Linked DNA regions of Homo sapiens: region 2 is linked to region 1. The links are contacts of gene promoters, found by promoter capture Hi-C in blood cells and fetal thymus (Javierre and others, 2016). All regions are on one chromosome and are shown on one strand. The core of a region is centred on a gene start or on the middle of the fragment in contact, and the rest is flanking DNA. Distances in the headings are between cores, read along the strand shown.

What was found. The method cuts DNA at HindIII sites, captures the fragments that hold promoters and counts their contacts. A CHiCAGO score of 5 or more calls a contact.
Region 2: a contact is called between a fragment that was not itself captured here and the fragment with the promoter of PCDH10 in region 1, in 3 of 17 cell types (M2 macrophages, M1 macrophages and fetal thymus). The highest score is 14.1, in M2 macrophages.

Annotation. Positions count from the first base shown.
Region 1 is chr4:133,147,093-133,153,254 of GRCh38, forward strand. It overlaps PCDH10 (protocadherin 10), which reads left to right and starts at 2,202. Exons shown (of 5, transcript NM_032961.3): 1 at 2,202-5,679. The coding sequence starts at 3,049. PCDH10-DT (PCDH10 divergent transcript) reads right to left here and starts at 2,024. Exons shown (of 9, transcript NR_125885.1): 1 at 1,937-2,024; 2 at 107-184. RefSeq lists an enhancer at 1,946-2,005 and a silencer at 2,116-2,255. The HindIII fragment of the contact is 9,721 bases long and covers 1-6,162 here.
Region 2 is chr4:136,639,201-136,645,362 of GRCh38, forward strand. No RefSeq gene overlaps it. Among named protein-coding and RNA genes, the nearest start is that of LINC02510, 550 kb to the right of the region's middle. The HindIII fragment of the contact is 585 bases long and covers 2,044-2,628 here.

The DNA.
Region 1 (6,162 bases), core at 952-3,451:
CTGCATTGTCATTCAGCTGCATGTCTCCCACATGCAAACACGCGCGCACTCGCGCGCACACACACAAGTGTTTCCATACGTACAAATGAACGCATTAGAAAATTACCGTCATTTTTTAAAAGGCTCCAGGATTCTGACGAGTCAGCTTGAAGAGCTCAAAACATTTCATTTCAATTCTGCAGATCTGAAGAAAAAGAAAGGGGGGAGGGGTGGAAGTACAGATGCAATACCGTATTAATATTCAGATACACTATAATCTCCTTTTCATTGATCCACAGGTCCCTTTATACACTGCCGCTCCATTCTCAGCCGCAGACGTGATGCTAAAATCATTTTAACTGCAGCGGTTTTCGCTTGGCTTTGGCCAGTCTTCAATTTACTGCAGCTGGAAAAGGATTAGCCATTTTTGCTGGAATCCTTTCCTTCTAAGCGCTCAAAGGCAGGACCCATCTTCATGAAAGAGCCAAGTGCGGGGGCCGGGGGGACCCGGCGTTGCGGGGAGTTGGGGCGCGGAAATCAGGGCAGTAGACGTGCATTCGCGGGACTCTCAGAAGCACGTCTCAGGCTACTATCACGCCCATGGACACTAGCCCTCCTTAACTCCTTGCCAGGAGGAAATGGCAACGTATCTCCAGGTCGGAAAACGACTCTACTTTTCCCGCAGGTTGTGGTGGTGTATTCTTGGGTCATTCATTACCAGAAAGCAGCAAAGGACCTTCCTATCTCTTTGCATAAAAAGGAGATTGAATAGGGGCTTCTTTCGTGAATAAACAACCAATTCCTTGCTAGTGGCCCATTAATTAAAAATATATATTTATAGATCTTTCCTTAGAGAACTGGCATTCTATCCACTCTCCAGCATTAAAGAGTTCGCGCTGTGTTTTAACTTCACAAGAACTAGCTATGTGGATGTGCCGCGTTGCCCCTGCGCCTCCGGAAGGGGCACTCACAGCTGGTCAAGCGCGTCCTTCGGAACTCGGGGAGGCTCCGTTGGGGCTTACACAGAGCTAAGCCCTGGGCCAGGGAGGATGGATGCAAGTACCGTGCATGTGCAAACGTGTTCGCAGATACCCGCAGCGGTGCACACTCGGGCCCCTCGTGTGCACGGGCCCTGCCCACCACCCCGCCCGCGTTCGCCGCCGCCCCACTGTCCTCATCCCGCGGGCTGACCCCAGGATTGGCAGAAATCAGTGGTCTAATCTAGCATGGTGGGTAAAGGGATCGATCTCCAATTGCCAAAAAAAAAATAGAAAATAGCCGGTGTTCCCAGCCGCTGCGTGGCACTTGGCCGCACAAGGCGCAGGGATATCAGAGGCGCTTTGCAGCGCTTGGCGGTGCTGTGTGCCGGATGCCCCAGAGCCCGGCGTTAGGATGGCGGGCTTGTAGGAAGCGGCTCAAATCAACTCCTCAGTCACTGATGAACGCGCTCACGGCTCGAAGCTAGGTCCTCGAGTGAGTTAATCTACTTGGTAAGTATTTTGTGAATATGTATTTTGGGAGGAAAGAAGCACGTCGAACGCGTCTGCCCGTCTGTAAGCGCTGTCATCCCCACATCCTTTAGCGTGAATTCCTCCGCTTTTTAGGAGTCACCTCCACCCCCTACTCCGTATGCTTCGCGCCTTTCCTCACGGCCCCGTCAGACCCCCTCACCTTTAGATTGACACATGCCATATAATACTCACTTTTAAAATGCCCTGCCAGTCTCTGCTAGGGTCCCTTAATTAGGTAACCCTTGCCAATTAGTGGGCCCTGCGCTACTTTTTCCCTTCTCGATGATTTATTTCCATGATGCGTATTAGGGAAAATACCTTAAAGGAAAAAGAATGTTAGCATCATTGGAAATCCCGCTCCTAGGAGAGGATATCGCAGCTGTTGCTATTATGTTTTCGCATTTGCTGATGCAAACAGGGGAACCTCTCTATTCCCTCCCCATTACCTGCGGCTGGGGACTGGGAACTTTCCGCGGCATTGTCCCCAGCCAGCGCCTCGGGACCTGCGGGGCTGTTCTCGCTCTCACACTCACACTCACCCCGGCCGCTCGGGCGAGAGTTCTGTCCCGCCCCGCCCGGCTGCCGCGTGACGTGTCTGTTTGGCGGCCAGTTTGGCCAATCATCGGCAGCTCGGTGGGTGGTGCTCCTGGGCGATTGGTTGGCAGAATGAGGGCGCTGCGCAAAAACGGAGAAGCCGAGCGCTCGGAGCTCAGAAACTGCCAGCCCAGACCACAGGCTCAGAGGCTGAAGCAGGAGGAAGGAAGGACTGGAAGGAAAAAGAGACAGGTTAGAGGGAAAGAGGCTTGGGAAGAAAACAGCAGAAAAGAAACTGCTCATTACACTTACAGAGAGGCAAGTAACGGTGGAGATGAGGACAGAGGGAACCAAGACTCTGAAAGACAAAAAATACAAATAGAGCGAAAGAGGAAAAAAATGTCAAGAAGAACATCCATCCGGAGAAATGAAGAGAATGAAAGTTTTAAGCTGCAGAGCCGTTCTGTGCTTTTCCGGCACAAAATTATATCGCTGATTTTAAGCCCTTTTGCATTTGCCAGCCGTTGACATTAAGAGGCATGTTTAACGGTGCCAACAGCATCTCCTTTTCCTTCTCCTCTTCCTCTTCTTCTTCTTCCTCCTCCTCCTCCTCTTTTTCCTCCTCCTCGTTCTCCTCCCATCAGCAAGAAGACAAACCGAGGACAGTCTTGAAATATCGAAATTTCCTCTTTGGGATTTGCCAGCGCCAAGACTGTCGGAATAAAGGACGCTGACTATTGTATTATTGTTATTTTATTAATTAGTCAGTGGAAAGATTACAGATGAGGAAAGGGGACGCCTGTCACCCTTCCTGTGCTAAGATTTAAAAAAAAATGAGGCTGGATTGCGGGAAGCTCTAAAATGAAGCAAAAGGAGTAAGATTTTTAAAGACAGAAAGCCACAGGAGCCCCCACGTAGCGCACTTTTATTTGTATTTTTTCAGATTTTTTTTTGTTTCGTGGTGGTGGGGGAGGTGATTGGGTGGCTGACTGGCTGCGGGAAGCTACTTCCTTTCCTTTTGGAGATGATTGTGCTATTATTGTTTGCCTTGCTCTGGATGGTGGAAGGAGTCTTTTCCCAGCTTCACTACACGGTACAGGAGGAGCAGGAACATGGCACTTTCGTGGGGAATATCGCTGAAGATCTGGGTCTGGACATTACAAAACTTTCGGCTCGCGGGTTTCAGACGGTGCCCAACTCAAGGACCCCTTACTTAGACCTCAACCTGGAGACAGGGGTGCTGTACGTGAACGAGAAAATAGACCGCGAACAAATCTGCAAACAGAGCCCCTCCTGTGTCCTGCACCTGGAGGTCTTTCTGGAGAACCCCCTGGAGCTGTTCCAGGTGGAGATCGAGGTGCTGGACATTAATGACAACCCCCCCTCTTTCCCGGAGCCAGACCTGACGGTGGAAATCTCTGAGAGCGCCACGCCAGGCACTCGCTTCCCCTTGGAGAGCGCATTCGACCCAGACGTGGGCACCAACTCCTTGCGCGACTACGAGATCACCCCCAACAGCTACTTCTCCCTGGACGTGCAGACCCAGGGGGATGGCAACCGATTCGCTGAGCTGGTGCTGGAGAAGCCACTGGACCGAGAGCAGCAAGCGGTGCACCGCTACGTGCTGACCGCGGTGGACGGAGGAGGTGGGGGAGGAGTAGGAGAAGGAGGGGGAGGTGGCGGGGGAGCAGGCCTGCCCCCCCAGCAGCAGCGCACCGGCACGGCCCTACTCACCATCCGAGTGCTGGACTCCAATGACAATGTGCCCGCTTTCGACCAACCCGTCTACACTGTGTCCCTACCAGAGAACTCTCCCCCAGGCACTCTCGTGATCCAGCTCAACGCCACCGACCCGGACGAGGGCCAGAACGGTGAGGTCGTGTACTCCTTCAGCAGCCACATTTCGCCCCGGGCGCGGGAGCTTTTCGGACTCTCGCCGCGCACTGGCAGACTGGAGGTAAGCGGCGAGTTGGACTATGAAGAGAGCCCAGTGTACCAAGTGTACGTGCAAGCCAAGGACCTGGGCCCCAACGCCGTGCCTGCGCACTGCAAGGTGCTAGTGCGAGTACTGGATGCTAATGACAACGCGCCAGAGATCAGCTTCAGCACCGTGAAGGAAGCGGTGAGTGAGGGCGCGGCGCCCGGCACTGTGGTGGCCCTTTTCAGCGTGACTGACCGCGACTCAGAGGAGAATGGGCAGGTGCAGTGCGAGCTACTGGGAGACGTGCCTTTCCGCCTCAAGTCTTCCTTTAAGAATTACTACACCATCGTTACCGAAGCCCCCCTGGACCGAGAGGCGGGGGACTCCTACACCCTGACTGTAGTGGCTCGGGACCGGGGCGAGCCTGCGCTCTCCACCAGTAAGTCGATCCAGGTACAAGTGTCGGATGTGAACGACAACGCGCCGCGTTTCAGCCAGCCGGTCTACGACGTGTATGTGACTGAAAACAACGTGCCTGGCGCCTACATCTACGCGGTGAGCGCCACCGACCGGGATGAGGGCGCCAACGCCCAGCTTGCCTACTCTATCCTCGAGTGCCAGATCCAGGGCATGAGCGTCTTCACCTACGTTTCTATCAACTCTGAGAACGGCTACTTGTACGCCCTGCGCTCCTTCGACTATGAGCAGCTGAAGGACTTCAGTTTTCAGGTGGAAGCCCGGGACGCTGGCAGCCCCCAGGCGCTGGCTGGTAACGCCACTGTCAACATCCTCATAGTGGATCAAAATGACAACGCCCCTGCCATCGTGGCGCCTCTACCAGGGCGCAACGGGACTCCAGCGCGTGAGGTGCTGCCCCGCTCGGCGGAGCCGGGTTACCTGCTCACCCGCGTGGCCGCCGTGGACGCGGACGACGGCGAGAACGCCCGGCTCACTTACAGCATCGTGCGTGGCAACGAAATGAACCTCTTTCGCATGGACTGGCGCACCGGGGAGCTGCGCACAGCACGCCGAGTCCCGGCCAAGCGCGACCCCCAGCGGCCTTATGAGCTGGTGATCGAGGTGCGCGACCATGGGCAGCCGCCCCTTTCCTCCACCGCCACCCTGGTGGTTCAGCTGGTGGATGGCGCCGTGGAGCCCCAGGGCGGGGGCGGGAGCGGAGGCGGAGGGTCAGGAGAGCACCAGCGCCCCAGTCGCTCTGGCGGCGGGGAAACCTCGCTAGACCTCACCCTCATCCTCATCATCGCGTTGGGCTCGGTGTCCTTCATCTTCCTGCTGGCCATGATCGTGCTGGCCGTGCGTTGCCAAAAAGAGAAGAAGCTCAACATCTATACTTGTCTGGCCAGCGATTGCTGCCTCTGCTGCTGCTGCTGCGGTGGCGGAGGTTCGACCTGCTGTGGCCGCCAAGCCCGGGCGCGCAAGAAGAAACTCAGCAAGTCAGACATCATGCTGGTGCAGAGCTCCAATGTACCCAGTAACCCGGCCCAGGTGCCGATAGAGGAGTCCGGGGGCTTTGGCTCCCACCACCACAACCAGAATTACTGCTATCAGGTATGCCTGACCCCTGAGTCCGCCAAGACCGACCTGATGTTTCTTAAGCCCTGCAGCCCTTCGCGGAGTACGGACACTGAGCACAACCCCTGCGGGGCCATCGTCACCGGTTACACCGACCAGCAGCCTGATATCATCTCCAACGGAAGCATTTTGTCCAACGAGGTAAGGCTGAAGCGAAAGGACCACCATCTCTCATCTCCTCCATCAGAAAGCCTCCTCTAGCCCGGCCCTTGTATCTCTGGTGCACTGTATCTATTTTTAGGATATTAGCTTATGTGTATCGTTGTGGGAGCAGAGATGGGCGGTCACCTTCTCCCACTCCTTCGTGTGTAACCTAACTTTCGCGTTGTTCCACCCTTTCACATTTATTTTCATTCCGTCCCCTTGGTACTTTGCCACCTTGGAGCTCCCTCCTTTGCTCTTCCATCCTGTCAGTCCTTTCCCTTCTCAGTAACCTGGGCATGAAGGGAAACTGCGTGAAGGGAGAGGGAAATGTGGAGGAGGGACTTACTTTCTAGCACTGGCAAAGGTCTTTTTTCTTTGCGTCTGTCCCAGGCATTAATAAAGTTGGCTCTATTTTGCTTTGTTTAACGATGCTTTTAGTCGCGTGTACAAGTAAGCTATAGATTGTTTAACTTTACACAG
Region 2 (6,162 bases), core at 1,086-3,585, 3.5 Mb after region 1:
CTAAAGGATAAATTTATTACTCAGGCAGCTCCTCATATCAGGTGGAGGTTGCAGAAATGGGCCCTGGGACCACATAGTACATTAGAGGACCTCCTGAAAGTGGCTACCTCGGTCTTTTATAATAAAGACAGGGAGGTCTAAGAAAGAGGAAGTACAGGAAAGAGGCAAAAGCTTTAATTGTCACTATGCAAGCCTGCAAACCCCAGAGTTCCCAGAGTGCACAAAGATATGGCAAGAACAGTTATCACTCTTCTAAAAGTTGATCTGCTCCCATACAAGGTTTAATTTATTTCACTAGGATGAAACAGCTCAGGGTACAATGTTGTCGTCAGTATATTTTACTTCCGGTCTCTGAAATCTTTGACACTGAATTCTTTCCTTGTATAATACACAGGTTTAACCCATGCATACTTAACCTTAAAAACCTCGTTTTTTTCTCTTGCGCATAGAAGCCATCAAACTCCAAATGGTCAGGCAACCAGAGCCTCAGGCGTTGGCTCCTTTTTGCTAGGAACCCTTAGATAGACCTCTGGGGGAATCTAACTGCTGTTTTCCCAAAAAAAAATGCTCCCTGTCAGCAGGAAGCAGCTAAGACCAGTCATCATCCATATTCTAATGGCAGTTAGATGTACGTCTTCAGAGGGGGGAAATGATACAGAAAGGAAGTGCTGGGAAGGGCATAGTCACTTTAAATGATACGGAAGCAGGAAGGGAAGTGCTGGGTAGAGGAGGCTGTGGTCCCTGGCTAGGGCTCCACCCCCAGGCGTGTGCCCACTGACCTAAGTGAGGACAGGCATTTTTGTTTTCCTGCCCAAATGTTGCATTTCCCAAGGCCACACCCCAATCCTGTGCCTATAAAATACCTCAAGACCATAGCAGGCAGACACAGGCGGCTGAACTTCCAGAGCTCGTCAGCGGAGGAACACACAGACGGCTGGATGTTGAGAGCAGCACACCTACAGGCACCAGCACAGGGCAGGCCACCGACCAGCAAAACACTGTGGAGTCTGGCTGGGGCAGTCGGAGGAAAGCCTGGGCCACTAAGCAGCCTGACTCCTGGGGAAAACCTTCCCACTCCATCCCCCTTTTGGTTTCCCCCAATCTGCTGAGCGCTACCTCCACTCAATAAAACCTTGCACTCATTCTCCAAGCCCAGGTGTTATCCCATTCTTCCAGGACACCAAGGCAAGACCCTGGGATACAGAAAGCCCCCTGTCCTTGTTACAAGGTAGACGGTCTAATTGAGCTGGTTAACATAAACCGCCTATGGTTGGCTAAACTAAAAAGCACCCTGTAACACAGGCCCACTGGGGCTTCAGCTGTAAACATTCACCCCTAGACACTGCCATGGGGTCGGAGCCCCACAGCCTGCCCATCTGTATGCTCCCCTAGAGGTTTGAGCAGCAGGGCACTGAAGAAGTGAGTTATACCCCCATTGCACACCCTGTGAGAAAGACAAGGAAGCTTTTCCGGTTTCAACAGTGCTGGTAGGAGTGTAGCAGTGAGAACAACCAGAGGTCACTCTCGTGGCCATCTTGCTTTTGTTGGGTTTTGGCTGGCTTCTTTACTGCAACCTGTTTTATCAACAAGGTCTTTATGACCTGTATCTTGTGCTGACCTCCTATCTCAGCCTGTGACTTAGAATGCCTTAACCATCTAGGAATGCAGCCTAGTAGGTTTCAGCCTCATTTTACCCAGCTCCTATTCAAGATGGAGTTGTTCTAGTTCACATGCCTCTGACACTATGACTCAAACAAGGCATTATTTCTAAATGCCCGCTTCCTTTGCTCAATACAACAAAAATATTGGATGCAGAGTATGTGCCTTAACACTCTGTTTGGTCCTTGTAATATAATAATACACAACAAATAATTCTGGCTTCTAGAAACTCATAATCCAAAGCACAAGTATTAATTTTAGAAGTTATTGTGTATTAGTCTGTCAGTAGTTTCAAGATTTACAACAGTACGGAGAAAATTCAGGTAAAACTTTATACCAGAAGAGGTGCTAAGTTAATGTTTCTTCTATTAAAGTAGATATATAAGCTTCTGACTTAGTTTTTTAAACATAAATATTGGCATCTTCCTCAATGTGATTTAAAGTTATGCTCAAGGGGAATTTGCCTCATCTCCTATCTTGTACGCCTCATGCTCAGGTAGAGTATTGTGAGTGAGAAATCATTCATTGAGAATGTGAGTTTGTAGAATAAAAACCCATGAGATACTAGTGTGCTTTGCAACATTTGAAAATGAATTCCAAACCTTTTGAATACACAAGATGCAAAATAAACCCTTTAATGATTCATGCTTTACATTTTAAAGAATCTCTCATGGTTTTCAAAGCAATCAGACACATACAGAATCTCAAAAGTAGTTTTGCATTTTTTAGATCATAAAAAGAATGTAGGCAGTTGGAAATGAATAGTACATAAAGCCTGAAAGATGATAATAATGAAAGCTATTAATATGCAGATTCAATTCAAAATGACAATTTATTTTTTAACCAAATGAGAGCCCTTTTGCTTCTCAAATGTTAATTGCTCTTATTTTGGTGCCCAGTTCACTTTATGGAAATATATAAGCTACAGGGAACAGTACTATATCCACAGATAATACTTGGAGATACAAAAGCTTAATATGTTGTACTACCATCAATACAAACTTACATTAATATTATCTATATTATAAAGTAAAAATTAATCATATATATCACAGTTGCCCATTTTTAAGTAAAATTTAACAAATACTTATGTTTTCTAAGAGTAACAGAATAGTATTTAAACATACTAAAAATAAAATCGTATTTCCTGGATCATTTATTTTAACTGGTATATTCTAAGCTGTATTTTAATAAATCTTAAGTTCAGGATATCATTGATTAAGCACCGGAAATATCACAGACTGGATAATTTATAAAGAAAAGAAGTTGATTTGGTTCACAATTCTGGAGCTGAGAAGTCCAAGTACGTGGCACTAGCATCTGGCAAGAGCCTTCATGCTGTGCTATTCCACGGCAAAGGGTGAAAGGACAAAAGAAAGAGAGAGCGAAAGAGCATGAGAGGGCCACACTCACTTTTGTAACAACCCACTGTCTCGACAATAAACCCATTCCCTCAATGACATGATTAATCTATTTAGAAGAGAGGAGTCCTTGTTGCCTAATCACCTGTTTATGTTCCCACTTTTTAAAAGTATCAAAATGAAAAGTAAGTTTTAACATGAATTTTGGAGGGAATATTCAAACCATAGCAAGCATCTTACCAGACTATTGTCTAATCAAATAATAAAGCTAATTTTGTTCTTTTTTATCTCTCCATTTTGTACTCATTGAAGACAGACACGTTTAAAAAATTAGTGAAATGAGAGGAAAATACTATGTGACAGCATCAATTACTGAGAAATCTGGTGTAATTTTCTGGTTCGCAAGGAATAAGAATTCAGAGAATGTTCACTCTATCCAAAATCTTTATATTTGTGGAAATGCTATTCATGAGAACCAAGAGCTACCTGATAAAGGAAATGTAAATCATATGCATTAGTCATTCTCTAGTGAAACCGGACCTGTTAGGCCCTATTATTGCAGATAGTGTTGCTTTTCTTGTCTGCCCCAAACTCTGGGCGCCAAGATTTTGATTTCTTAAATTGATTAGTTCCTCTAGATTTAAATATTTATCTAAGAAGCTGCAGTTAACTCATATTTTTAACATGACAATTAGATTAGTCCTAAAGGAGATAATTTGATTTACATATGTCTATATTTTCATATGTATAAATGTGGAAATGATAGATACGTAAACAGGCATACATTATGCATATAACCAACACACACGGTATAAAGTTTATATATATATATATGCATATATATCTTTTCAATCTGAAAATAATATATAGGCAAAATTACAATGTAGTTGTAAGTTTTAGCGCCAAATGTTTCTCATTCGATTACTGACAAATCTCTCACACAAGAACAGCCAGGATCATATATTCTTTTTGTTATGGGCTGAGTTTTTCTACTGTCTTAAGACTTCTTCTACATCATCTGCTTTTAGATTTCTGTTTACATTGCAAGCTTATTTCCTACTTAAGTCTTCACCAGCCTTCCATGTTCTTTTGGTAAATGTGTGGTTTGTTGAACACCTTTCTCTGTGAATGAGCCAGACACAATGCATGGATGAGCATCTGGCAGTTAGGTTTGTACTACACTCTTCCTAATCTAATTGAATGGGTACTTGACTGAAGTAGGGCTGATCATATCCTCTCTTCTAATAATTTGTAATTAGGACAGAGAAAGGACCAGCCTCTCTGCGTGATGAAATTCTGAAATGATAGACAGCTATTATTTCGTGATAGAGAAAAAGGAAAAGTTGTCTGTGAAAATAGGAAGGTAATAATGAGTCAGATGCCCTGAAGCTCTAGTGGCTCTTGAGATGAGGCTCCCCTTGTCTTGCTCTTGGCTTCATGAATCACTTGTGAATCCTCTTTATAAGTGACTAGATGTATTTTTCTACCTCACCTGAGTGAGGTTTTTACACTTTAAACTTAAAGCATCTTACTGATATAGTCAAAGAACTCTAGTATTGCATTCTCACATTTTCTATTTGAAACTGTTCAAATTGTATCCTTTAAAGTATGCATTTCTAGAGCTTTAGCTATTTCAGCTTCAGAGTGATGCCTCTCTGCAGATTCATGATATTTTAGAAAATAAATTTTTCTGAAAAGGTGTCTGTTAAAATACGCCTGTTTTTATGTATTATTCCTATGGGATGGATTGTGTAGATTTTCTTGACTTTTAGAAATGTCTTCTTGGCTGAGTACTACCTGTAAGAGTGGCATTTCTGTAATAAAAAGACATTTACACTCTGCCTACTTTGTTGCAATCATTAACAAATTTTATTCCTTTAAGCAATTCCTATATATATTAAAAACTATGCATTTATCATCTGTTGAAGTTTAAAAATTTGGTTTTCCAGAATAACATATTGACTCGACATTTACCAACAGAATTTTTTAAACTATATGCGTTTACACTTCCACATTAATATTCTAGTAAGTCCCTCAAAATAACAATATCCTAAAGAGTAGCAGAATATGCCACCCCAAAATATGACACCATAATATAAGAATTTTTTTGAGCTAAAGATACTTGAAAAACACCAGGTACAAGAAAGGGACTCCAACCTCCCCCTTTTCTTCCTGAAAACAGTAAATAAATCCCTCTAAGGAAGATGTCCTTTGTATGCCAGGAGGGAAGTAACATTCTTATCACCAGGGATGGCTAGTTGAGACTGAGATAAGTCTGTACAAACAAACCTTGTTAACTCACTTTTATCTTCTTAGTCACTTCTCCATGATTAATTACCCTGCCCAAGCCCCCTTGCCTTGTCATGTTTTCACAGTGTATAACTGTTTGTCCAATTCAGTATATAAATGTTTGATTCTAACTGCTATTTGGGATCTTCCACTTCAATATGAAGCTTTTGTGTCATGTAAAATTTTTATTAAATAAATGTGTATACTTTTCTCCATACTTTTCTCCTGTTAATCTGCCTTTTGTCAATTTAATTCTTAGACCTAGTCCGAAATTCTAAGAGTGTAGAGGTCAGATTTTGCCTCTCCTAGCCCCATAACCAAAATCCTTATTTTACCACTAAATTGAATTTAACTTAAAATACCCCATCACAATAAATCTCAAGTCTTTTCTTTCCATCATTCAATCCAGAAAACTGGAATTCTTCATTGACTTCTCACTTTTTTATACCATATATATATAATCTGTGATCATATATAGAAAGCTATTTTCAGAATCTGAACTGTTCTTCCTATCTTCACTGCCAGCCCCTGGTCCAAATCACCATCACTTGCAAAGAATTTCTTTTTGAAATAACTTCCTAACTGCATGGTCTTCCTGCTTTTGTTTTTGCACTCCTTTGATCAGTTGTTCCCCAGTAGCCAGAGTGTCCTGATAAAACACGGTCAGAGCATAGTCTTCCCCTGCTTAAAATCCTCTAGGAGCTTCCAATCTCAATCAAAATAAAAACCAAAGATTTAACAATGATCTACAAGGCCCTACATCATCTGTAAAGTTTTTACTACAGTGTGTCTGACACAAAATAAGCATATCATCTATGGCAGTTGATACTACTTTTATCATTATTTTTAGTTC